Regions from separate parts of the Homo sapiens genome. Here all the other regions are linked to region 7. The links are contacts of gene promoters, found by promoter capture Hi-C in blood cells and fetal thymus (Javierre and others, 2016). All regions are on one chromosome and are shown on one strand. The core of a region is centred on a gene start or on the middle of the fragment in contact, and the rest is flanking DNA. Distances in the headings are between cores, read along the strand shown. Region 1 has its middle 7.0 kb from the start of LINGO4. Region 2 overlaps THEM4 (thioesterase superfamily member 4). Region 3 overlaps RORC (RAR related orphan receptor C). Region 4 overlaps LOC124904421 (a long non-coding RNA gene). Region 5 has its middle 7.6 kb from the start of THEM4. Region 6 overlaps S100A10 (S100 calcium binding protein A10). Region 7 holds the start of TUFT1 (tuftelin 1).

Region 1 (3,177 bases), core at 616-3,115, 260 kb before region 7:
CTACCTTCCAGGGGACCCCTACATAGAAATTCCACCTGGGACACCCAGTTGCTGCCTCTCTTTCCCATTTCTCCATGGGAGCTCCTCATCATTTTTGCGTCACAGATCCCTAGTGCCCTTGGGGAAAACTCAGAACTCCAAGATAATGACTAACAAACACAAGAATCCGCAGTTGTCAAAGGAGAGAGACCCAGGACACTGCAGAGACTAGGCTTGGAGGAACAGGGAGGAGGGCACAGCAGGCTGTAGTGAGAAGTGGAGGGAAGGGGGAACAGCAGTAACTGCCTGCCTAGTTAATTTCCACCATCCTTCTGCAGCTTCCTCTGGTTCTGTGCTTAGTGCAGCCCCAGTGGGAAGCTGTCTCCGGGTAGAGGTCACTGATTTACAGAGACCCCCAGATGGGGAGGTGGAGTAGGAGGTGAAACTGCTGAGTACCACTGACTGTGCTTCAAATAGAGGGCAAAGCAGAGCCCAAAAAGAAGTAGAGATGCTGGAAGCTCAAGGAACAGAGCAACAGCCTCAGCATCACTGGAAGGGAGGAGTGACAGGGAGAGGAGAGGAGTCGGAGGAGGGACTGAGAAGGGAAGAATCACGTGGCCCTAGGGAGCCTTTCTGCGCAGTAGCATCTACCCAGCGTCCTTAGTTTCCTCCCACCCACCCCTACACCAAACCAGATGCAAGCATTGTGAGCTTTCTAGTTGATTCCTGCTGCTGTTGTCCTTGCTCTGAGGAGACTCCACTCATTAGAAGATTCCCAGCTCAAACTGCCCGACAGATGAGACACTCAGAGCCACTGAGGAGGTGAAGCTGGACTTCACAGGCAGGCCGCTCTTTAGTGGGGCAGAGATAGGAATATGGGGGTAGTACCAGAGGTGAATGTGAGAACCAGGCAGACAGGAGAGTGGGGCTGGAGAAACTGACCTGCTTGAGAAACGAGTTTCCCTGAGCCTGCAACCTCCCCACCCACCATGCACACACAACTCAATCAGCATCCCAGCAACTTCCCCTTCTTTAGTGTATAATGTACCAGACAGATTTCCTGGGGCACAGCCCTCCCGCTCCTTTCCATAACCTTCCACCAGCAGCTTATTAGGTTGGGACTTGGGAGTCAGACGCTGAAGGTTCTCACTCTAGTTGCCCTCTCTGCAATGCGGAAGCAGCAATGCTGTTCAGAGAAATCTTCTCTGGGAAGCCCCTGACGCTCTGGGGAACAGATGACTGTCTGGTGCTGGGACATGCTGCTGCCCAAGGTCTCTGAAGTCTCAAAGTCTCCAGAGCAGAGCTACCCAACAGACACAGAATCTAAGTCACACATGTAATTTCAAATTTTCTAGTAGCTACTAAATTAAAAAATCAAAATGAAACGGATACATTTAAATACTTACTTTATTTAACCCAATATACCCAAACTATTATCATTTCAATATATTATCAATATAAAAATCAATCATAAAATATTTAACATTTTTTCATATTAGGTCTTTAAAATCCAGTGTATATTTTACACTTACAGTACATCTCAACATCGCAATTCAGTTACTAAATTTTCACCAGAAAAATCTATATTTCATACAGGTCACTGTTGAGAAAGTGGATTCACACATCTAAGTTTTTTCAAACATAAAACATTTTCCAATAACTGAATCGAATCTCTGTCTTAAATTTTAAATTAAACAAATTTAAAATTCCATTCCTCAGCTGTACCACCTACCTTTACAAGCATTCAATAGCCACATGTGGCCAATGGCTACCATATTGGACAGCAAAGCTTCAGACATTGCAACCTGGCGTATAGACTAAGGTCTCCTTGGCAGTGGTGGGTGGACAAAGTATCCCTCAAGAAACACATTTAATCTCAAGGAAATGCCTATGGAGTTAGTCCCACCACAGCCCCTTAGTCTCCTTTCACAGCTTTACCAGAACACTTTTGAGGGGTGAAGCCCATTCAGGAAACAAGCTTACTATGATGAGCACTTCCACAGCTTGTCCAAGCGTTAGCATGCCAGTCCCTCATCTTACCTGTCGGGAAGACTGCCCTCAGCTCAGCTGTGATGGCACAGGCTGCTGTGTGTGTGCTGATGAGTGTGCAAATGCAGCCAAGGACATGAGTGGGTGGTGTGTATGCAGAAGTTTTGTGGCCCATGTGCAGGGATGTATGGTACCACATCATGGGGACAATCTAATGGAGGCTCTGCCCAGGGTGGGACAGCAGTTCAAAGAGAAGAAAATAACATTTATTGAGGGCCTATTCTATGTCAGTGGCTTTATATATATTTTCTTATTTAATCCTTACATCAACCCTATAAAGTAGAGAGGCATCTTAGCTGGTGAAACTAAAGGTCAAAGAGAGTAAGTGCTCAAGTGCACAGAGCTAGTTAGTAAATAGTAACTAGCTATTTGAGCTCATGGCTGTCTGATTGAAAACTCCCCCTTTCCACCACACTGCCATCCTCACTGCCATGCCCTCACGGCTCTCTCTCCCAGGGCCTTTCAGTTGCAGGACACGACCTGTAAGAAAGGAGAAATCTTCCAATGCATCCACTCTGAACTTTCAGTGGGGACTGGGCTAAGTTATTGGTCCTTACATTCTTCATTAACTCTAATGCACCTGATTCAGGATGTTGGGGTTTTTCTTTGTTTTTACTCTTTCTTCTCAGTCCCCTCTCCCAATGTCCTTACAGCCTCTGCCTCAGGGACTGATAGAAAGGAGCAGAAATTCCAGGGAGTAAATGGACTTCAGTGAAATGCCTGGCTTCCAGCAAAGGATTCTCTGAAATGGAGGCTTCACATTTCCTAGTTCTTTTCTGGGTTCTAACCTCAACAACCTCCTAGGTTAGAGAGAGGTTGCACAGATTGGTGGAACAATCTGTGAGCTACTTCAGATTGGAGAAGAATTTGACTCTGCCTACCTTCTGCCTACCCCTGCTTGACAGAACCTTTCTGAGGACATTCCATCCTGCTCTCCTTCTACCCCTCTCTCTTCCATCTCAGACATGGTCTTACCTAAGCTGAGAGAGAACTCTGGACCCAAAGATGCTGTGGCACCATCTCAGCACTTCACATTTCCTTCCCCCATACAATCTTTCTCTATTTCTGACTTCTATTTCCTGTGCTGTGCTGGATCCCTGATTCAGGAGATGAGAGCCCGGCTAAGCAATGATCCTCAACTTTTTTTGA
Region 2 (3,230 bases), core at 727-3,226, 350 kb before region 7:
CCTGAGCTCCCTACTCCTCTTTCTCCTATATTTTTTGGTAATTGGCTCTGTCATTCACCTCACTGCAGGATTCAGAATCCTGGTACTGGGTCTTGTATTTCTCTTTTTCCCTTACCCTCCTTATCCAAATTGTCACCAAGTTCTGCTTCATGCTCTCATGATTTCTCACCTGAGTTACCCTAGTAGCTTCCAAATAGGGCCCTCTGATTTCAACCTTGGACACTCCCACTATCTTTTATATTATGGAAAGATCTAATCATGTTACCCCCCATTTAAAATCCCTCAGAGAGCACTGCAGATACAATTCAAGCCAGTTAGCTTAGTGTTAAGGTTTTACATGCATTTCTGCAGCCATCTGCCCCTATTCTTGCACCCTAATAATGCCAAACTTCTTTTAGGCCTTAATTTCATCATCTGCAAAATGAGGATAATAAATAGTACCTACTTCATATGATTGTAATAAGGCCCCTCAAAACTGTTTCATGCCTCTTTTGCCCACTGCATTAGGCTGTTCTCACATTGCTATAAAGAAATGCCTGAGGCTGCGTAATTTATAAAGAAAAGAAGTTTAATTGACTCACATTTCTACAGGCTATACAGGAAGCATGATGGTGGCATCTGCTTGGCTGCTGGGGAGGGCTCAGAAAACTTACAGTCAGCCGGGCACAGTGGCTCACTCCTGTAATCCCAGCACTTGGGGAGGCCGAGGTGGGCAGATCACCTAAGGTCAGAAGTTCGAGACCAGCCTGTCCAACATGGTGAAACCTCATCCCTACTAAAAATACAAAAATTAGCCGGGTGTGGTGGGGCGGCACCTGTAACTCCAGCTACTCAGAAGGCTGAGGCAGGAGAATCACTTGAACCCAGGAGGTGGAGGTTGCAGTGAGCCAAGATTGCGCCACTGCACTCCAGCCTGGACAACAGAGTGGGACTCTGTCTCAAAAAAAAAAAAAAAAAAAAAAGGAAGCAAGAAAACTTACAGTCATGGCAGAAGGCAAAGCAGGAGCAGGCACTTCACATGGACACAGCAAGAGCAAGAGTGCAAGGCACAAGGTACTATACACTTTTAAACAACCAGATCTCATGAGAACTCACTATCATGAGGACAGTACCGAGGAGGATGGTGCTAAACCGTCCATGAGAAATTCACCCCCATGATCCATTCACCTCCCACCAGGGCCCACCTCCAACTTTGGGGATTACATTTCAATATGAGATTTGAGCGGGAACACACATCCAAACTATATTCCAGTGTTTTTTTTTTTTTTCCTGTAATACTTTTTCCAGCTGGCTAATTTCTGCTTATCTAATCAATATTCAAGTCAAAGAACCCCTTCCTGAACCCCTAATCCTAGATGAGTACTTCTCCCTTATCCCCTAACTTCCTGTGCATAGCCACTGGAAGCACTTTCAACATGGAAGATAATGCCTGTTCTTAACCTCCATCTCCAGTGTGCTGGGCTTACCTGTGCTTGATTAAAGTCTGGAAAAAAAGAATGGAATCAGCAGACCTGAGCATAATCCTGGCTCTGTCAATAGCTCGCTGGGTGATGTTGAGCAAATCATTTTCCCTCTCTCAGTCTCTCATTTTCCCAAGGAGGTTGGACCAGATGATCCCTGAAATTCCCTTCCATTTTGAAGTGACAAGCTTATGGGGAGAAGAAAAGCAGCAAGATAATCTTAGAAATTGGGAGAATATGTTATGAAATAGAATGCACCTCCCATTACTTACTTTTCTTTTTCTTCTGTCTTTTAGAGGTCATTTTCTTCTGAGGAAGTCATTCTTAAGGACTGTTCTGTCCCCAACCCCAGCTGGAACAAGGACCTAAGACTGCTCTTTGACCAGTTTATGAAGAAATGTGAAGACGGCTCCTGGAAACGTTTGCCTTCATATAAACGTACACCTACTGAATGGATTCAAGACTTCAAAACCCATTTTCTTGGTAGAAACAGCCACTTTCCCATTAATATATCTGAGCATCAAATATAAAGCTAAGAACAGATTGAAGTACTAGTTACTACCTGAAAAAAAGAAAGAATATAATGCAGGATTATGGTTCTATAGTCACCAATTTTATAGACCAGAAATCACAATAAATTTTGCAGATTGGAGAGCATAAAGCCTATTGTCAAGAATAAGACTGCTCCCACCCTGGCATTCTTATCACCATTAGCAAGAGTGAAGAAAGGGCCCCAGAGAGCTTCCACCCTCCTACAACCTCATCACCTCTCCGTCTTGAGGCTGTCATCTAATCTCATTTCACCCTTTATCCCATATCTGGTTATATCACCCTAAGAAGCTTAGAACACTCAGGTTATACCCACATCTCCCAGTATCTAAATCCCCAGGGCAACCCACCCAACACCCAAAACACACACATAGCAATTCCTATCCTTCTGTGTTTTTTTACTAATATACTTTTTTAGCATTATAATTTTATAGAAAAATTAGCCTAAAGTACAGAGAGTTCCCATATACCCTTTATCCCCTCCCCACCCCTAATTTCTCCTATTATTAACATCTCACATTACTGTGGTGTATTTGTTACAATTGATGAGCCAATATTAATATATTATTCTTAATTAAGGTCCATAGTTTGTTTTAGGGTTCACTCTTCGTATTATGTTTTCCGTGGGTTTTAACAACTGTGTAATGACAGATATCCATCATTATAGTATATTTGAATCATTCACAGATATTTCTGAGTTACTCATTATCTTTTAATCATCCAAACACATCTTTAGGTGGTGGTTGGTTTTTTTTAACTGACTTTTAAGAAGGCCCTTGGGCCAGGCACCGTGGCTCATGCCTATAATCCCAGCACTTTGGGAGACTGAAGCGGGCGGATCACTTGAGGTCAGGGGTTTAAGACCAGCCTGGCCAACATGGTGAAACCTCGTCTCTACTAAAAATACAAAAAAAATTAGTTGGGCCTCGTGGCGGGGACCTGTAATTCCAGCTACTTGGGAGGCTGAGGCAGAAGAATTATTTGAATCCAGGAGGCAGAGGTTGCAGTGAGCTGAGATCGCGCCACTGCACTCCATCCTGGGCAACAGAGTGAGACTGTCTCCCCCCCTACAAAAAAAAAAAGAGAAAAAGAAGGCTCTCAATATTGCCCAACAACCATACTTCATGTTTCCCTAGTTTATTCACTCTCCTCCCTTACTGGATGAGTATTTTCTGCCTTTTTCTTTCTTCTTATGCCTCTAATACTTTCCCTTCTCACCCT
Region 3 (2,984 bases), core at 485-2,984, 280 kb before region 7:
AGGGAGGCAACTGGAGCTTTTCAACTCGAAGGGCTGAGCAGGTGGCCCCTCTGCAGCTGCTTTCTCTGCCTCCATAGCACTGATACAACTCCCGGCCACCCCTCCACACTCCCCTCCTCTGTGAAACAAACACAGCTTCCTCACACCCTTTGCTGAGAAGCATTTGGCATTTCACTTCCCCTTCCATTTTGCAAGAGGGAAACAGCAAGCTGGAGCTGGTTGGAGAAGTAGTGGAAGCACCAGGTACCTGTATCTGCAGCCCAGGTACATGGTGGTTGAATGCAGAAAAGCCTCCTGGGCTGACCTACTTCTCTTTCTCTCTTCCAGCACAAATTGAAGTGATCCCTTGCAAAATCTGTGGGGACAAGTCGTCTGGGATCCACTACGGGGTTATCACCTGTGAGGGGTGCAAGGTGAGTCATAGGCATGTGTATGCATGCATGTGTGCGTGTGCATACACAAGCGCGCGCGCGCGCACACACACACACACACACAGTGTCTCCTTAGAGATAAACAAGGGGGTTAATGGCCTTTGTTCTGACTCCAGGGATGATCTCCTGGGCAGCCAGGAAAATGCCTGAGTAGCGCCTTCCTGCAGGGCCCTCAACACTGGCAGGGCCCTGTCTTAAGCTGGGGAAATGACTACAGGATAAATTGCAATTACACAAATAGATGGAGGAGAGAGAAAACTGACAGGTCGTGGGATGTAGAAAAGCTGCCAGAGCTTGTGGGCTGGAGGCCTTTGTGAGTGAGCTGGGCCTGACCAGGATAAGCAGTCTTGCCCTCCACCTGCTTTCCCCAGGGCTTCTTCCGCCGGAGCCAGCGCTGTAACGCGGCCTACTCCTGCACCCGTCAGCAGAACTGCCCCATCGACCGCACCAGCCGAAACCGATGCCAGCACTGCCGCCTGCAGAAATGCCTGGCGCTGGGCATGTCCCGAGATGGTGAGGCCAAGTCGACAGCCCCCTGGGGTTTTCCTGGTGTCTCCAGAGGGGCAGCCTGGCCTGCTGAGCTAGACAAGGCTTAACCTGCAAGACGGCCCATCCTCTGGTCTCCTCTCCATTCCTCCCCGTTACAACCCCTTGTCTCCTCCCCTCCAGGGATGGATGGGTCACCCCCATCAAAGTTCTTTGGAGTCCCCAACTTTAGGCTTTGCTAGAACAAACATCCTCTTTCCAAGGTCCCATACCTCTTCATCTCTTCTTACTTGGAACGAATTCTCCTCACTCTGCTGCCCTCTGGCCCAGCTCCCATGCAGCTCTGGCACCTTCCCCTGCTACCCTGTTGTTGTAGTTCTAGCTCTATCTCCTTTTCTAATCCCCCATTCCCATACTTGGACACAGGACTATAGCCAGGAATGGAAACAGAATTGGCCTGAGAACAACCAGAGGGTGGTCGTGGGGGAGGGCTGGTGTTCCTGGTGCCTTATCCACCCTCCTCACCCACCACCTCCTCACCAGTCTCCCTGCACACCTCCACCACCACAGAAGGAGCCTAGGGTGGAGCTGGGGGGGCATGAGGTGATGAGGAGCCAGAAGGAGCCCGTCAGCACTTTTCAGTGCCCAAAATAACAAAGCAAAAGGAAGCACGCAGGGGTGCAAAGGGGCAGGCGGGGCGAGGGGCTGTGCCCCTACACCTGGGAGGGGTGGCGGGGGGAGTAAAAAGGCAGGAAAGAGAGAGCAGAAGAGGATGTTCAGAAACAAGCCGCGGAGCCCGGGTTGGGCTGTGGTGAGTATCTAGGTCACCAGGGAGCCTGCAGGCCTGACCACAGGGAGACCTGTGTTCTCAGCTCTCCTCTTCCTCCGACCCTCCCAAAGAGGCGAGGTGACCCCAATACAGCTTGAGGCCCTCTGCTCGACCACCCCCAGCCCCAAGATCTGGAGGCCAGAATCCCCAGCCTAGACTCATTGCTTGAATTCTGCCATGATTCAAATCTGATTTAGAACTTAGAAGATTTTGCTTAGCAGATTGAAATGGCAGACTGGACAGACCCCAGAAGCAAACAAGAGTGAGAGGTGGACGGGGTCTTGAGCATAAGTTCCCTAAAGGCTAGAGAAGCTGTGCTTGGAGTCAGCCATTCAGAGAGCAGCAAGTTAATCCTTTAATGACCAAATGCCTCCTGACCCTGCCCTGTGCCATGTTCTCCTGCCTCATAAACCCCTGGTCCCTGGACCTCTTTCAGCTGTCAAGTTCGGCCGCATGTCCAAGAAGCAGAGGGACAGCCTGCATGCAGAAGTGCAGAAACAGCTGCAGCAGCGGCAACAGCAGCAACAGGAACCAGTGGTCAAGACCCCTCCAGCAGGGGCCCAAGGAGCAGATACCCTCACCTACACCTTGGGGCTCCCAGACGGGCAGCTGCCCCTGGGCTCCTCGCCTGACCTGCCTGAGGCTTCTGCCTGTCCCCCTGGCCTCCTGAAAGCCTCAGGCTCTGGGCCCTCATATTCCAACAACTTGGCCAAGGCAGGGCTCAATGGGGCCTCATGCCACCTTGAATACAGCCCTGAGCGGGGCAAGGCTGAGGGCAGAGAGAGCTTCTATAGCACAGGCAGCCAGCTGACCCCTGACCGATGTGGACTTCGTTTTGAGGAACACAGGCATCCTGGGCTTGGGGAACTGGGACAGGGCCCAGACAGCTACGGCAGCCCCAGTTTCCGCAGCACACCGGAGGCACCCTATGCCTCCCTGACAGAGATAGGTGAGCAGCTGGGGAGGTGGAGAGGGTGGTAGAGATGAGGGAGGGGTTTCCACCAGTACCCCGTATCAATCAAACATGCGCCTGAGGGAATTGAGGGGTCCAGACGAGGGGCGGAGGGAGGAGGCGGAGCAGGATAGGCCAGGCTGAGAAGTGCCCTTGCATGGGTAGGCGTAGGAGCTGGCTGAGATCAAGCCATGCCTTCCTTCTCCGGCCCCAGAGCACCTGGTGCAGAGCGTCTGCAAGTCCTACAGGGAGACATGCCAGCTGCGGCTGGAGGACCTGCTGCGGC
Region 4 (3,164 bases), core at 275-2,774, 390 kb before region 7:
TAAATAATAGAGCAATCTATCACTTTGTAAAATCTAGAAGACTAAGCTTTGAAGTTCTTCCAAGTCCCTAATTAGATAATAGTCATCACTTAAAGAATAAACTGTTAGGTATTGAGATAGATATAACCTGTTCATTTATTGACGAATATCAGCCTAAAAGTTTACCAGGAAATAATTTAAAATGTATAAAATCTTCCTAATTACTCAAAGGAAATTTATAATAGTCAAAAATTTTACCTACTAACCAAAAATCCAGAAGATTCAGGACAAAAATAAATGGAAGAATAGATAATTATCTAAATACACTTGTGGAGGTCAGAATAATGGGCCCCCAAAAAGGTCCAAGTAAGTCTCTGGAGTCTGTGAATACGTTACCACACATGGCAAAAGGGATTTGCAGATGTGATTAAGTAAGGATCTTGAGATGGGAAGATTATCCTGGATTACATGGGCAGGCCCAATGTAATAACAAGGGTGTAGGGTGCAAGGAAGAAAGGTGCGGAAGAGTTACAGAAAATGGGACGACAGAAGCAGAGGTAGTTTTACAATTGCTGGCTGAGGGACCAAGCCAAAGAATGTGGGCTCCCTCTAGAGGCTGGAAAAAGGAAGAAAACAGATTCTTCCCTAGAGCCTCTAGGAGTACAGCTCTGCTGACACCTAGATTTCAGCCCCCTGAGACCCACTTCAAATTTCTGACCTCCAGAACTGTAAAATAATAAATTTGTGTTGCTTTAAGCCATTAAGTTTGTAATAATTGTTATAGCAACAAGAGGAAACTTATACACACTCTTTTGGCTCTTTCGGGTTAATGTGCAGTTTTGGTGACAACATACTGATCAAAATTGTCAACAAATTATGTGATCTCCCCCTTGTGTATAGTCAGTGGTATTATAAGGTAATTTCAAAAGAAATGGAAGAAAAAAGTTTTTTAAATAAATGGAAAACAGTTACTATTAATATAGTCTGATTGGAAAGGTTAAAACCACTTGGAAAGGTTAAAACTTTATGGAACATATAGCTGCAAACAGTTCCACACAAAAACAAAAACAAAAAAGGCTACAAGAAATCTGGTGCTATTCCCAATGCCTTTCTACACTAGCTGGTGAAATGTCACAGTTGTCAGTGGACTATTACCCATGTTTAAAGCCCATCTCTCCTCTTGCAGAGAACCCAGACTTAGAATCTCAAGCAAAACAATGGCTTGCATTTGAGAAAGAATGTCTAATAAGAAAACATTTATATTGTTGGTGCTGCCTCTCAATATCTATCAAAAAACTTTATGCAAGATTATCTGAAGTATATATAAGTCACAGTACATGTTTCTCTGAGGCCAGATTACCAGAAAGCTGAATAACTGTACTATATTGTTTTGCCCCCTCTGCTGGGTCGCCTCCATTCCCTTTGAATTTCTTTCACTGAAATTTGATGCCATCAGCTTAATTAAGAGACATTACATGGTTTAGCCCTGTGAGACTTTTGTTGTCTTTACAGTTAGGATTCTTTGAGGTTGTTATTTGTTGTATTACATAGAATCCCCTCCATGAAAACCCTTGCATAAATCCATGTGTTAAGGTGTCTGTACCAGAAACAGGTAAGCCGCTTCTAAGCAGAGGGTCATTCTTCTTTTTAACGCTCACAGAAATATAATACACATGGCACTACACAGCTGTCAAAAGCTATGGAACTATACAACAAAAAGAATGAGCCCTAATGTAAGTTAAGGACTTTGGTTAAAATATCACTGCTGGCTCATCAATTGTAATAAATGCACTACACTAACGCATGACATTGATAATAGAAGAAGCTGTTTGGGTTTGAAGAGGGTAGGGGTAAATAGTAATTCTCTGTACTTACTACTCAGTTTCTCTGTGAAACTAAAACTGCTCTAAAAAATAAAGTCTATTAATTTAAACATATATATGTATATATATATACACATATATATGTATATATATACACAAAAGCATATATACATATATATGTGTGTGTATATATATATATATATATATATATATATATATATATATATATGCACACACAAAAAGCAAAGTACACTGTAGCATAGTAGATTCTGGGAAGATGGCAGCAGCAGGGGCAACAGCATAGGTGTTCAATCTTTCCTAATCCTAACACAAAAACAAACGAGCAACTTGCTATTGTCTGAATGTTAGTGACTCCCCTGCCCCCAAAATCCACATATAGAAAACTAACTCCCAAGGTGATGATATTAACAGGTAGGGCCTTTGGGAAAGGATTCTATCATGAGGGTTCTGCCCTTGTGGGTAGGATTAGTGCCCTTGTAAAAGAAGCTCAAGAGAGCCTGTTCACCCCTTCTGCCATGTGAGGACACATGGAAGGCACTACCTATGAAGAACAGGCCCTCTCTAGTCACTGAGTCTGCCAGTGCCTTGACCTTGAACCTCTCAGCCTCCACAACTGTGAGAAATAAATTTCTGTTGTTGGTAAATTACTCTCTCTAAGGTATTTTGTCATAGCAGCCTGAACAGGCTAAGTCTCAACTAGATAGCAAAACCAAACCCTACAGACATTTACAAAAAAACAAATGACAAAGTATTCCCACGAGCCTCAAAATACAAACAAGTGGGGACAAACCAGCAGTCACAAAACTTGCATGGTTTCTGCATCAGTGTGTGAGGAAGAAGAATGAAGAAATGGAGACAGTGTCTGATGGACCTGAGAACTCTCCAACAGTAATAGGTATGGAAGACACAGCTGAAAAGGGAAAGATCTGATCTCTCCAATAGGAGGTAAGTACAAGAGGCCCACAGTAAGGACTTAAGAGGGCTGGAGCAGTCTGGCCCCTATGAACTCAAAATTCATTTGCCAAGGCTCCCTTCCAAGACAGGGACCCATGCTAGGGAGAAACTACAGGGAATGCAGTTTTTAAAAATGAGGAGTACAAGGACAAGAGAGATGATCCAAAGAGAAGGTCTTTATCCAAGTTAAAGAGAACAGCCTGGAATCTCAGAAAGCAAGCTTCCACGCCAGACGCGGTGGCTCACACATGTAATCCCACCACTTTGGGAGGCTGAGGGTGGGTGGATCACTTGAGGTTAGGCATTCAAGACTATCCTGACCAACATGGTGAAGCCCCTTCTCTACCAAAAATGCAAAAATTAGGTGGGCGTGATGGCACACACCTG
Region 5 (3,077 bases), core at 360-2,859, 380 kb before region 7:
GGGTTTTTCTTTTCTTTTTTTTTTTTTTTGGAACGTTGTCTTTGGTGGAAAGAGGGGTAGCAATGGATGAAGGGTATAGGTGTGAGAGTTTCTGCTGTCATGACTGTTGTTTTATGTGAAAGAGGTTTGAGTATGTTGAAACAGGCAGAGGCTAGATATAGAAAGTGCTTAATGGGGGTGTCAAAGGATACAATTCCAAAATATTTAGTTTGAAGACCTCAATTGGCTTTATTTGCAATTCTAGAATAAAACAAAACCTCATTCTATAAAACAGAATAGTGTTCCAATGAGCTGAGCAGAGGAGATTGGTTTTACAGACAGAAGGGCTGAAGAAAGCAGAAACAAAGAACAAAGAGCGGATAACTCATTTCACAGTTACTTTCCTTGTACAGTGAGAAGAGGAAACAGAACAATGGAGAAATAACTAATTGTTAACATCAGGTTACATTTTTTGGTAATGATTAGGGCAGACGAAACTTTATTATCATGCCCGTTTGGGAAATTAAGCTGTTCTCTCTCTCCTGATTTCTAGGAAGATCAAATAACAACTTAGTTTTGGTTTGGTTACATTAAACTTTAGTATGACTGGCTCCATTTTGATTTTTATTCTGATCTGCTGGGGCCTAGTGCAGGAGCTTAGTCCAAAACAATGGCCTCCTATAATTTTTATTTAACAATTTTCCCCTTTTGGTCAAGGCTCAAGTGAGAACCTGACCAAAACTAAGGGCATTGGCACTAGTCTCAGTTACCATCATTTTAGGTTTCCAGTCTCAACACATCATTCATAGGTTAGTGTCCTCATCATCATGCATTTCTTTGAGTTTTTTGTTATTCCAGCCAAAGACAGACTATTTGACATTCAACAGATGGCTGTATGCAAACATTTAAAACTTTTTTTTTTTGAGATGGAGTCTCGCTCTGTCACCCTGGTGGAGTGCAGTGGTGTGATCTCAGTTCACTGCAACCTCTGCCTCCCAGGTTCAAGCGATTCTCCTGCCTCAGCCTCACGAGTAGCTGAGACTACAGACACGCACCACCATGTCCAGCTAATTTTTGTATTTTTAGTACAGACAGGGTTTCACCATGTTGGCCAGGCTGGTCTCGAAATCCTGACCTCAGGTGGTCCGCCCACCTCAGCCTCTCAAAGTGCTGTGATTACAGGTGTGAGCCACCACACCCGGCCACAAACATTTAAAACTTTTTGAGAGCATACAGTGCAACAGACAGACTACTATTATTACTCTCAGGAGGATATTATCAAGAGTCTGGAGTATGCTCCTTAGCTAGGGTCCTCATGAAACAAACCAACTAAAATAGAATAGATTGAAGAATGAGCCAGATGAGGAGTATATCGATCTTAACCAAGTAGCCAGTCTATTTTTTCAGCCCAGTCTCTATGATACCTGATGTATTTATCCCTGTGCAACAAGAAGTGTTAGCAACTGCAATGATTCCTTCTTGTTCAGCTAATAGAAAATCTCATGACTGAGTTAAAGTATGGAATGACAATTTGCAAGTCACCCACAGAAGCTACTGATTGTGAAATTCTAACGATAGCATTATTCTGCCAGACAAAAAAGATAGGCATAAACAAGGAAAAATTAAGGGAAATAATAGTCTCATTATGGCAGGGTCTTGTTCTGACAGTTTTGTCTGTTTGTTTATTTGTTTGTTTGTTTTTTGGAGACAGGGTCTAGCTCTGTCACCCAGACTGGAGTGCAGTGGCAGTGGCATGATCTCAGCTCACTGCAACCTCCACCTCCTGGGCTCAAGTCATCCTCCCACATCAGCCTTTTGAGTAGCCGGGACTACAGGCATGCACCACCGTGCCTGGCTAATTTTTGTATTTTTTTTAGAGACGAGATTTCGCCACGTTGCCCAGGCTAGTGTCAAACTCCTGGGCCCAGCAATTCACCTGCCTCAGCCTCCCAAAGCACTAGGATTACAGGCATGAGCCATTGCACTCAGCTGTTCCGACAGTCTTGAGAAAAACTCCCCATGATAAAGTTAACAACTCATGTGGGTTTGTAGTTTGAATGTCTCTGGTTATGGCATCGGGCAGTTTGGTGAACTTGGTGTGGTCCACACATCGGGCATGAGGCTTGTCCCTTAAAATTTACATTGAGTTGTCCAGCTTCAGCTCTGGGGCTTTAGGAACAGAGCAATTTTTGTTCTTAGTTGGAAAATTATAGCCAGATACTGAAGGAAACTAGAATACAGGATCCAGTCCGGTATACAGGTAGACAATAAAAATTTGAAAACAATGAATAGGAGTAAAACCTAATAACAGGTGTACTATAGTTTTTCCTCAGAAACATAATTATTCTCTTTACAGTCACCCCCATTTCTATCAAAGATAAACACTATAAGACTCATATGTTTGCAACATAAATTTAGTCTCATCAAACTTGATCGTTAGACTTTCTTCTCAGTATTTAAAAAACAGAAAGCACCATGTTTCTTTAAAAACAATCCTTTCTTCACCTCTGGCTGCTGTCCTCTCTTCTCACTATAAGAGGTCTGAAGAGTAGTCAGTCTACTCCTGTTTGTATGTTTACCTCCCACTCATTCCTCCAGCCTCACCTCCCCACCTCAGCTGCTCTTACTGATGTCTCTAATATGTTCTGTGTTCTAAAAAAAGGACACTTTCAGGCCTTTATCTTAAGTTCCAAACTATTCTATTATCTCTGCGGTACCTTCAACACAACGTATCCAGAAAAGAACTCACTTTTCTTCCCTGTGCCCCTAAACATACTCCTCCTTTTCCCTTTCTAAAGGGTACCTCCACAATTTGTAGTCCAGGAAACCTGGATAACATCTTAGTCCTCCTTCTTTCCCCTGCCCTTGGCCTCATCCATTACCAAATCCCCTCACTCTATCAATCCCCACAAAGCACTCAAGTGTTTCCTTGATTCCAATGCAATTTCCCCGGAGCCTCTATCATGATCCTTCTAAAATATCAATCAGATAATGCCAGTCCTCTAGTAACAGTCTCCCTGTAGCTCTCCATTTCCTCCAGAGTGATCTCTAAACACATATAGGAGAATAGAGTCCTTTGGGATCTTGAAGCCCCAGCC
Region 6 (3,314 bases), core at 44-2,543, 450 kb before region 7:
GGAGCTCAGCAGTGAGATAGCAGCACTAGAAAAGCAAAAAGTAGAAGATGGGATGAATGAAACACGAGAAAATAGCAAGTGTTAGAAGAGAAGGAGCACAGTCATGTCATTCTGACTAGACCTGTTTAGCAGGACACATATTTTTCCTTTTGCGTATGGAATGTGCACTCCTGTGTACTCTATCTACTGTTCCGTTCATAGTTGAACACTTTTGGGGCCCCTTTCCTGGCCCTTCCCAGCTCTCACATCGTCCTCCTGAGCTCTGAGCTACAAGGCTTTCAGCCTAGTCCTGGGTAATCACACCTGCACCTCAGCTACTGCCCAAGGGATTGTGTGGTTCATTTATGCACATAACAGTTATATAGTGCTCCATGAATAAAAGCAGAATAATTTGTAGTTCTTAATCAAGAGAAGCTTAAATCTCAGGCAGACAAGTAAACAATTAAATGAAATTGAATGTTTCAGGTGCAAGAGTACGTTATTGGGGATAGAGAGGACACTGCAGCCCCTCAGCCCCAGCCCCAAGGCCCTCCTGTCAAAATGTGTCTAACCAGGATGCAGGAAGCCCACATCTGTCCAGGAATAGAGCTTGCAGAGTGGCTACGTGAGGGTGGAAATGCCAGATTGAAGTCCCTGAAGAACTTCAGTTTTGGCAGCTAGCAGTGCTGCAGACAGCCCTGCCCAGGCAAGCCCCACCCAAGAACGGAGGGCCAGGCAGGGCTGACTCAGTTGGGCAACCATTGGCTGCACTCAGACAAGAGTTACATGATTCATCCTCTAGCCAAGAGAACAGAGTTTTAATCACAACATTTCCCCCTTTCCTTTGTCTTATTTTAAAGCCAGTGTGCAACTCCTTCCCCAAAACAGAGTTCCTTGCTGTGGCCCTGGTCAGTGCCCTTTGGGGTACTGGTTGCTGAGGAGACAAGGGCTTCTCCACTGATTTTCAATGCTATTTTCACCTCCTGGCTACTCCCTCCTCTGCATCCTTATTGCAGAAGGCCTACTGGACACACAGGGAGTCAGCTGGCTGCAATATTCACAATCCATCCACTGAATAAAACCGCTGGGGGAGGAGGGGAGGGGAAGACCAAGTGGGAGAAGGATGTAACTTCAGAGAAGGAAGCTCCGTCACTTCGTAATGGCTGTGGGCAAGAGAGGCATGCGACTGAGTGACTTCAGACCTAAGCACTCACACAGTGTGAGGTAGACTCACCTTGCTCTCCTGAAGAAGATACTCAAGGGTGGCCAGGATTTCCTCAGCTGACAACTTGTATTTCTTAGAACCTCCTAAAATTAGCCTTTTTAAAATTTAGAGGTCCTTACCCTGCTGCATTCCCTTTCTTAATTCTGCACTTTCCTTCTGTCCTGTCATCTGAAAAAAGTAAACTAGGTACCCCACCCAGTTCCAATTTCTGGGATCTTTGGGAATTGATCCTGAAGTGCTCTGCTGCTCTGAACTTGAGCACAGGTATTTTTAAACCTCTGTGGTGTCTGACTCCTTTCCTGAGTTATTTAAGAACTGGGGTGGGATCCCACGTCCTTCTCCCAGAGGTGACTCGCCCAGTTCAGTTCTCTTAAATTGCTGGACTTGGAGTACCAGTCCAGGCAAGGCAGACTCTCTGTAAGCCCACTGCCATCTGAAACCCATATGAGGGATGGGGGATGAGCCAGATCTGAGCTGTGTCAGAAGAGAAGGAAAAGGGTGTGGTTCCCCTGGAATTCATCTCACAGCAGACCTTGAAGCATTAATTTGCAGCTCTCTCCAAGATAACTAACTGCCTTTCAGATGACTCATGCCAGATTCTGATTTATAGCATTCTTTGGCCTGCTGGTTCCCATACTTTTCTGGAGATTAAGGGGTAGAATTTACAATTCTTAAGTGTTAATTGCTCAATCCTCATGTTTACCCACTCCACCTTCTCCTCTGTAAAAGATAGCATTTGAGAATCAGTGTTGAACAGGCATCTCTCAGAGATAGGAACCAGACCAAAGCATGTCTCAGGTTCCCATTAGAGCTCTTCAGCAGAGGAATTTGCCAGCCCTTCAATCTAAGCTCAAAGCCTATTCTTGTGATTATTTATTTTTATTTTTTAGTGCTATATTACAGTCTCCATTCACGTTCACCTGTTTCCTATCCAGTAGTGATTTTAGGTGATATTAGCCAAAGCTTATCTGTTCTCGCCAAATGATTCCTTCCAATTAAGCCAAAATTCACTGAGGTTCTATTAAGTACCACGTACTGGGTCTTGTGAGACATATACCCCTAGTTCATTATACCCAAATGTAATGATCTGACATGTTTCCTTTCCTTTCTTATAAACGCTTCATGATGAAAGCTCTTGCTTTCCCACTGTACCCCAGACTGTGAGAGCAGCTCATCTGTCTAATGTCACTAAAAACATAGGAGGCCCTCAAATGAGTTAGGTTATAGTATTACTTGTTGCTTCTCAAGTGAACTAGACAATGGACTTTGAGTAGTTTTCTGTTTGGGTAGAGCAACTGTATTTTACTGCCAGAGATGCAACTGTCTTTATTGCAGTAAATAACAAGTTCAGAGCTTTAGTAAAGAATACATATAGGCCGGGCATAGTGGCTCACGCCTGTAATCCCAGCACTTTGGGAGGCCGAGGTGGGCGGATCACGAGGTCAGGAGATCGAGACCACGGTGAAACCCCATCTCTACTAAAAATACAAAAAAATTAGTCGGGCGCGGTGGCGGGCACCTGTAGTCCCAGCTACTCGGGAGGCTGAGGCAGGAGAATGCCGTGAATCCAGGAAGCGGAGCTTGCAGCGAGCCGAGATGGCGCCACTGCACTCCAGCCTGGGCAACAGAGCAAGACTCCGTCTCAAAAAAAAAAAAAAAAAAAGAATACATATATACCCAGCAGATAAATTCATTTGTAAGCAGATTTCTAAACCCTAGAATCACACTGAACCAAGTTACCACTTTAAGCTTAGAAGGGTGAAGTTTTCGTATTTACCAGACTTGACTGTGTGGATTGTTAGTATCAGCCATATCTAAGAATCCCATTTACTAGTGCCAAGAGAAATTATGAACTATCTGTTCTTTCAGTAGGTGCTTTGTCAGTTAAAAAGAGGAACACTGGGCCGGGCGCAGTGGCCTGTAATCCCAGCACTTTGGGAGGCCGAGGTGGGCGGATCACCTGAAGTCAGGAGTTTGAGACCAGCCTGCTCAACATGGCAAAACTCCGCCTCTACTAAAAATACAAAAAATTAGCCGGACATGGTGGCGGACGCCTGTAATCCCAGCTACCTGGGAGGCGGAGGTTGCAGTGAGCCAAGATCACAACACT
Region 7 (3,031 bases), core at 167-2,666:
CAATAGCAACATCTGTATTTTAATGTGGCAAAAACACTCATAGCCCAGGCAGAAATGGAGAGGGGACTGGGAAAAGAACTAAATGACCATCTGTATTCTAAACCTGAAATGAGTTTGAAGAAGAGCCATAATCTAGCTGCAGTTGGGTTAGCTCTACCTCAAGAGCAGGATGAGGCAGGCAGAGAGTAAGGGAGTCAGATGTGGGAGGGGGGATGATACACAAGTTCCCCATCACCTTAGTTTTCATTTCACTCCCACCCACAATAGCTTGGAAATTGATGAAATAGTACACACCTAATCTGGGTTAAGTTCCCCAAAAGAGCCTAGAAACACTCAGCCACAAATTACCCTCCTCAGCCTCTGGAGAGGAAAAACCATATGGTCAGCTAGGGTGGGGAGAACTGGGACTGGGAGCCAGAGAAAGAGGAGAGAGGGGTAGACCAGCCTGCACTGGAGAACGCCCCCTTTCTCCGCAACCCTCTCCCCGTCCAGAAGCCTTCGCTTGGGTCACTTCCCTCCCCTTCTCGGCCCGGGTTCTGCATCCCCTTCCTCCACTATCCCAGGGCCTGGCGGCTGGAGACGGAAGCAAAACTAACACACCGTCCCAGGAAGCTATCGGCAGGCAGATAGAGGGAGGAAAACAAGAGAACTACAAGGGGGAAGAAGGAGAAATCCAAGACAAGAGGTGACCCCCGGGCGGAAAGCCCTATCCCTTAGCGAAAGGTAGAGTCCCTAGCCAATCTCGGAATAGTTTGAGTCCTACCGTCCCCTACTTGCCCCCCGCCCTCCAGTCCAAGCCCTGTAATTTACTCTACCATTTTTCTTGTTACTGATCATCCAAAGCACCATGATGAAATTCTTTGGAGGGCCTCGGAGGTCACCAGGACCCTCGACCCACGGGAAAGCCTAAGCCTCCTCGGCAGGACACAACGTCCAAAGGCGCTCAGGGACCCAGTCGCTTGAGCTCATTCTCTTATGACCCAATGTGGCTGCCCAAAAGACGCCTGAGACCCGCGGCCCAAGCACGGGCTCGCCGGCGCCGAGTCCCAGGCAGGAGCCGCAGTGTCCTACCAAAGGGCAGGGACGCCCCGAACCCTCCAGCCTCAAAGGAGTCTTCACCCCGCGACTCCCACTGCCCGTCGCAGGCAAAAGAATAAAAAGAGAGAAGCGCCGCGCAGGGCTGACCGCGCGAGCCGGGCACCAGGTGATGTCAGCCAACACGGCGCGGGGCACGGAAGGGGCGGACTTAGAAACCGGGAATACAAAACGGAGAAGACAGCGAGAGCGCTTTTTCTTACCGCCGCCTGGTCCTCTGGGTGCACGTCCACCAGGGTACACCAGTTCCGCGTCCCGTTCATCTTCCCTCGGGGTCGCAGCACACACGCCACTTGTCCACCCCGCTGTCTGGCTCCAACTGGGCGGGCGCGCGCGGAACCGCCCCCTTGTATAGGCCCATCAGGGGCGGGGCTGAAGATAGGCCGCGCCCCCAGTTCGCGGTTTCGCAGAGAACTAACGATAGGCGAGGAGGTGAGGTGGGCGGAGCCAATGGGTCTGGGACATGCCCCATCGGTGCTCGCATAGATTTACACAAAGGTGGGGCTTGGGAGCGACATGGGGCTGCTTTAACTGAACAGCTTTATCTGGAGTATGTGGTTGCACATTCTTCATTAATCTTGTCGCTTTCCATCTTTCCAAGATCAGTGTTGGTCAGAGGGAATCACCCTGCCTGCTCCTAGTGGATGAGGAGTTGGAACCTGCAAAAGCTTCCTTCCATACATGCTCCTCTCCCTATACGTAAGCCACCTGTAGGCTTTGTGGAGCTGAGTAAACCTTTCCTCCACCGCAGAAAGGCAGGCACCAAGGTCCAGCTCACTCAGACTGGCCTAAGCCAGTCTGGCAGGTGCACTTCCTTGGCAAGAGGCCCAGGAGGCCCAGTCAGCTTAGGCTCTGGGTGGGGCTTGTTTTGCAGAAGCTCTTTTACTGACGCTGCCCTTATATAGTTGGGAGAGGCGGGACACATTGCCTTAAAAGGAATTTGTGTTCGTGAGAAAGGATGAGCCTTGACTTTTCCAGTTGCATTTTCTCCCCAAGCCTAGGCTGGGATCTTGAGGGCCTAGAAGAGAGGGTTGGCCAAGCAGGACCCTGGAGCTTCGTCCCCGCCCAGCTGCTCTTGGCAGATGGCTTCTTCACTTGGCTGTGGTCCACAGAGACAGCAGACAGAATACTTTAGGAGGAGGTCTGACCCACTCCTGAAGGGATAGTACTCCTATACCTGGCAATAGGCTCTAGTGAAGGGCCAGCTCCCTCTTCAAGGCAACACTAGGGCAGGAACAGCAGAAATGTCCCTACCTCCCAGTTAGGGACTGGGTCCTATGTCAGTTAGGAATGAATGAGGATTTTTCTACCTGGGAAGTGAATGCTGGGGTTATCACTATGACCCAAGGGAATAAAACCCAGTTCTGGTCTGTTCTACTCTAACCCTCAAAAAGGCATTTACTGCTGGCCAGGCGCAGTGGCTTATGCCTGTAATCCCACCACTTTGGGAGGCCGAGGTGGGCGGATCACAAGGTCAGGAGTTTGAGACCAGCCTGACCAACACAGTGAAACGCCATCTCTACTAAAAATACAAAAATTAGCTGGGTGTGGAGGCACGCGCCTGTAATCCCAGCTACTCAGGAGGCTGAGGCAGGAGAATCGCTTGAACCCGGGAGGCAGAGGTTGCAGTGAGCTGAGATCATGCCATTACACTCCAGCCTGGGTGACAGAGTGAGACTCCGTCTCAAAAAAAAAAAAAAAAAAAAGGCATTTACTGTCCTTGTTCTTCCCAGAAGGTTGTTCAGGAGAGAAGAGAATGGGGCTGCTATAAACATCTCCAGGTTTCGTAGGTCCCATCTGCTCTGTTCTAAAGGGCCTCTGAAAAGTCAGGTGAAGAAAACTCCAGCTTCGGCTCCTAAGCTGTACAGTTAATATGACTTCATAAAATCTGGACCTCCAAATATGCCAAGAAAAAGAATGAGAAGACAAACCAAGG

The links. The method cuts DNA at HindIII sites, captures the fragments that hold promoters and counts their contacts. A CHiCAGO score of 5 or more calls a contact.
Region 1: a fragment that was not itself captured here is called in contact with the fragment with the promoter of TUFT1 in region 7 in 13 of 17 cell types (M1 macrophages, M2 macrophages, M0 macrophages and 10 more); the score reaches 10.3 in M1 macrophages.
Region 2: a contact is called between a fragment that was not itself captured here and the fragment with the promoter of TUFT1 in region 7, in 1 of 17 cell types (M2 macrophages). The highest score is 5.3, in M2 macrophages.
Region 3: a contact is called between a fragment that was not itself captured here and the fragment with the promoter of TUFT1 in region 7, in 7 of 17 cell types (M1 macrophages, M0 macrophages, erythroblasts and 4 more). The highest score is 10.6, in M1 macrophages.
Region 4: a contact is called between a fragment that was not itself captured here and the fragment with the promoter of TUFT1 in region 7, in 1 of 17 cell types (M2 macrophages). The highest score is 5.9, in M2 macrophages.
Region 5: a contact is called between a fragment that was not itself captured here and the fragment with the promoter of TUFT1 in region 7, in 3 of 17 cell types (M2 macrophages, erythroblasts and M0 macrophages). The highest score is 8.0, in M2 macrophages.
Region 6: a contact is called between a fragment that was not itself captured here and the fragment with the promoter of TUFT1 in region 7, in 1 of 17 cell types (erythroblasts). The highest score is 5.3, in erythroblasts.

What each region holds. Positions count from the first base shown.
Region 1 is chr1:151,796,797-151,799,973 of GRCh38, reverse strand. No RefSeq gene overlaps it. Among named protein-coding and RNA genes, the nearest start is that of LINGO4, 7.0 kb to the left of the region's middle. The HindIII fragment of the contact is 189 bases long and covers 1,771-1,959 here.
Region 2 is chr1:151,893,721-151,896,950 of GRCh38, reverse strand. It overlaps THEM4 (thioesterase superfamily member 4), which reads left to right. Exons shown (of 6, transcript NM_053055.5): 2 at 1,757-1,943. Among named protein-coding and RNA genes, the nearest start is that of THEM4, 14 kb to the left of the region's middle. The HindIII fragment of the contact is 652 bases long and covers 1,651-2,302 here.
Region 3 is chr1:151,814,624-151,817,607 of GRCh38, reverse strand. It overlaps RORC (RAR related orphan receptor C), which reads left to right. Exons shown (of 11, transcript NM_005060.4): 3 at 328-413; 4 at 803-944; 5 at 2,183-2,695; 6 at 2,913-2,984. Among named protein-coding and RNA genes, the nearest start is that of LINGO4, 11 kb to the right of the region's middle. RefSeq lists an enhancer at 2,167-2,667. The HindIII fragment of the contact is 5,382 bases long and covers 1-2,984 here.
Region 4 is chr1:151,931,613-151,934,776 of GRCh38, reverse strand. All of the region lies in intron 1 of LOC124904421 (a long non-coding RNA gene), which reads left to right. Among named protein-coding and RNA genes, the nearest start is that of THEM4, 24 kb to the right of the region's middle. The HindIII fragment of the contact is 2,951 bases long and covers 49-2,999 here.
Region 5 is chr1:151,915,615-151,918,691 of GRCh38, reverse strand. No RefSeq gene overlaps it. Among named protein-coding and RNA genes, the nearest start is that of THEM4, 7.6 kb to the right of the region's middle. The HindIII fragment of the contact is 3,893 bases long and covers 1-3,077 here.
Region 6 is chr1:151,987,092-151,990,405 of GRCh38, reverse strand. All of the region lies in intron 1 of S100A10 (S100 calcium binding protein A10), which reads left to right. Among named protein-coding and RNA genes, the nearest start is that of S100A10, 5.1 kb to the left of the region's middle. The HindIII fragment of the contact is 1,753 bases long and covers 417-2,169 here.
Region 7 is chr1:151,538,694-151,541,724 of GRCh38, reverse strand. It overlaps TUFT1 (tuftelin 1), which reads right to left and starts at 1,416. Exons shown (of 13, transcript NM_020127.3): 1 at 1,299-1,416. The coding sequence starts at 1,358. RefSeq lists enhancers at 609-1,123, 1,124-1,639, 2,155-2,671. The HindIII fragment of the contact is 3,648 bases long and covers 1-1,765 here.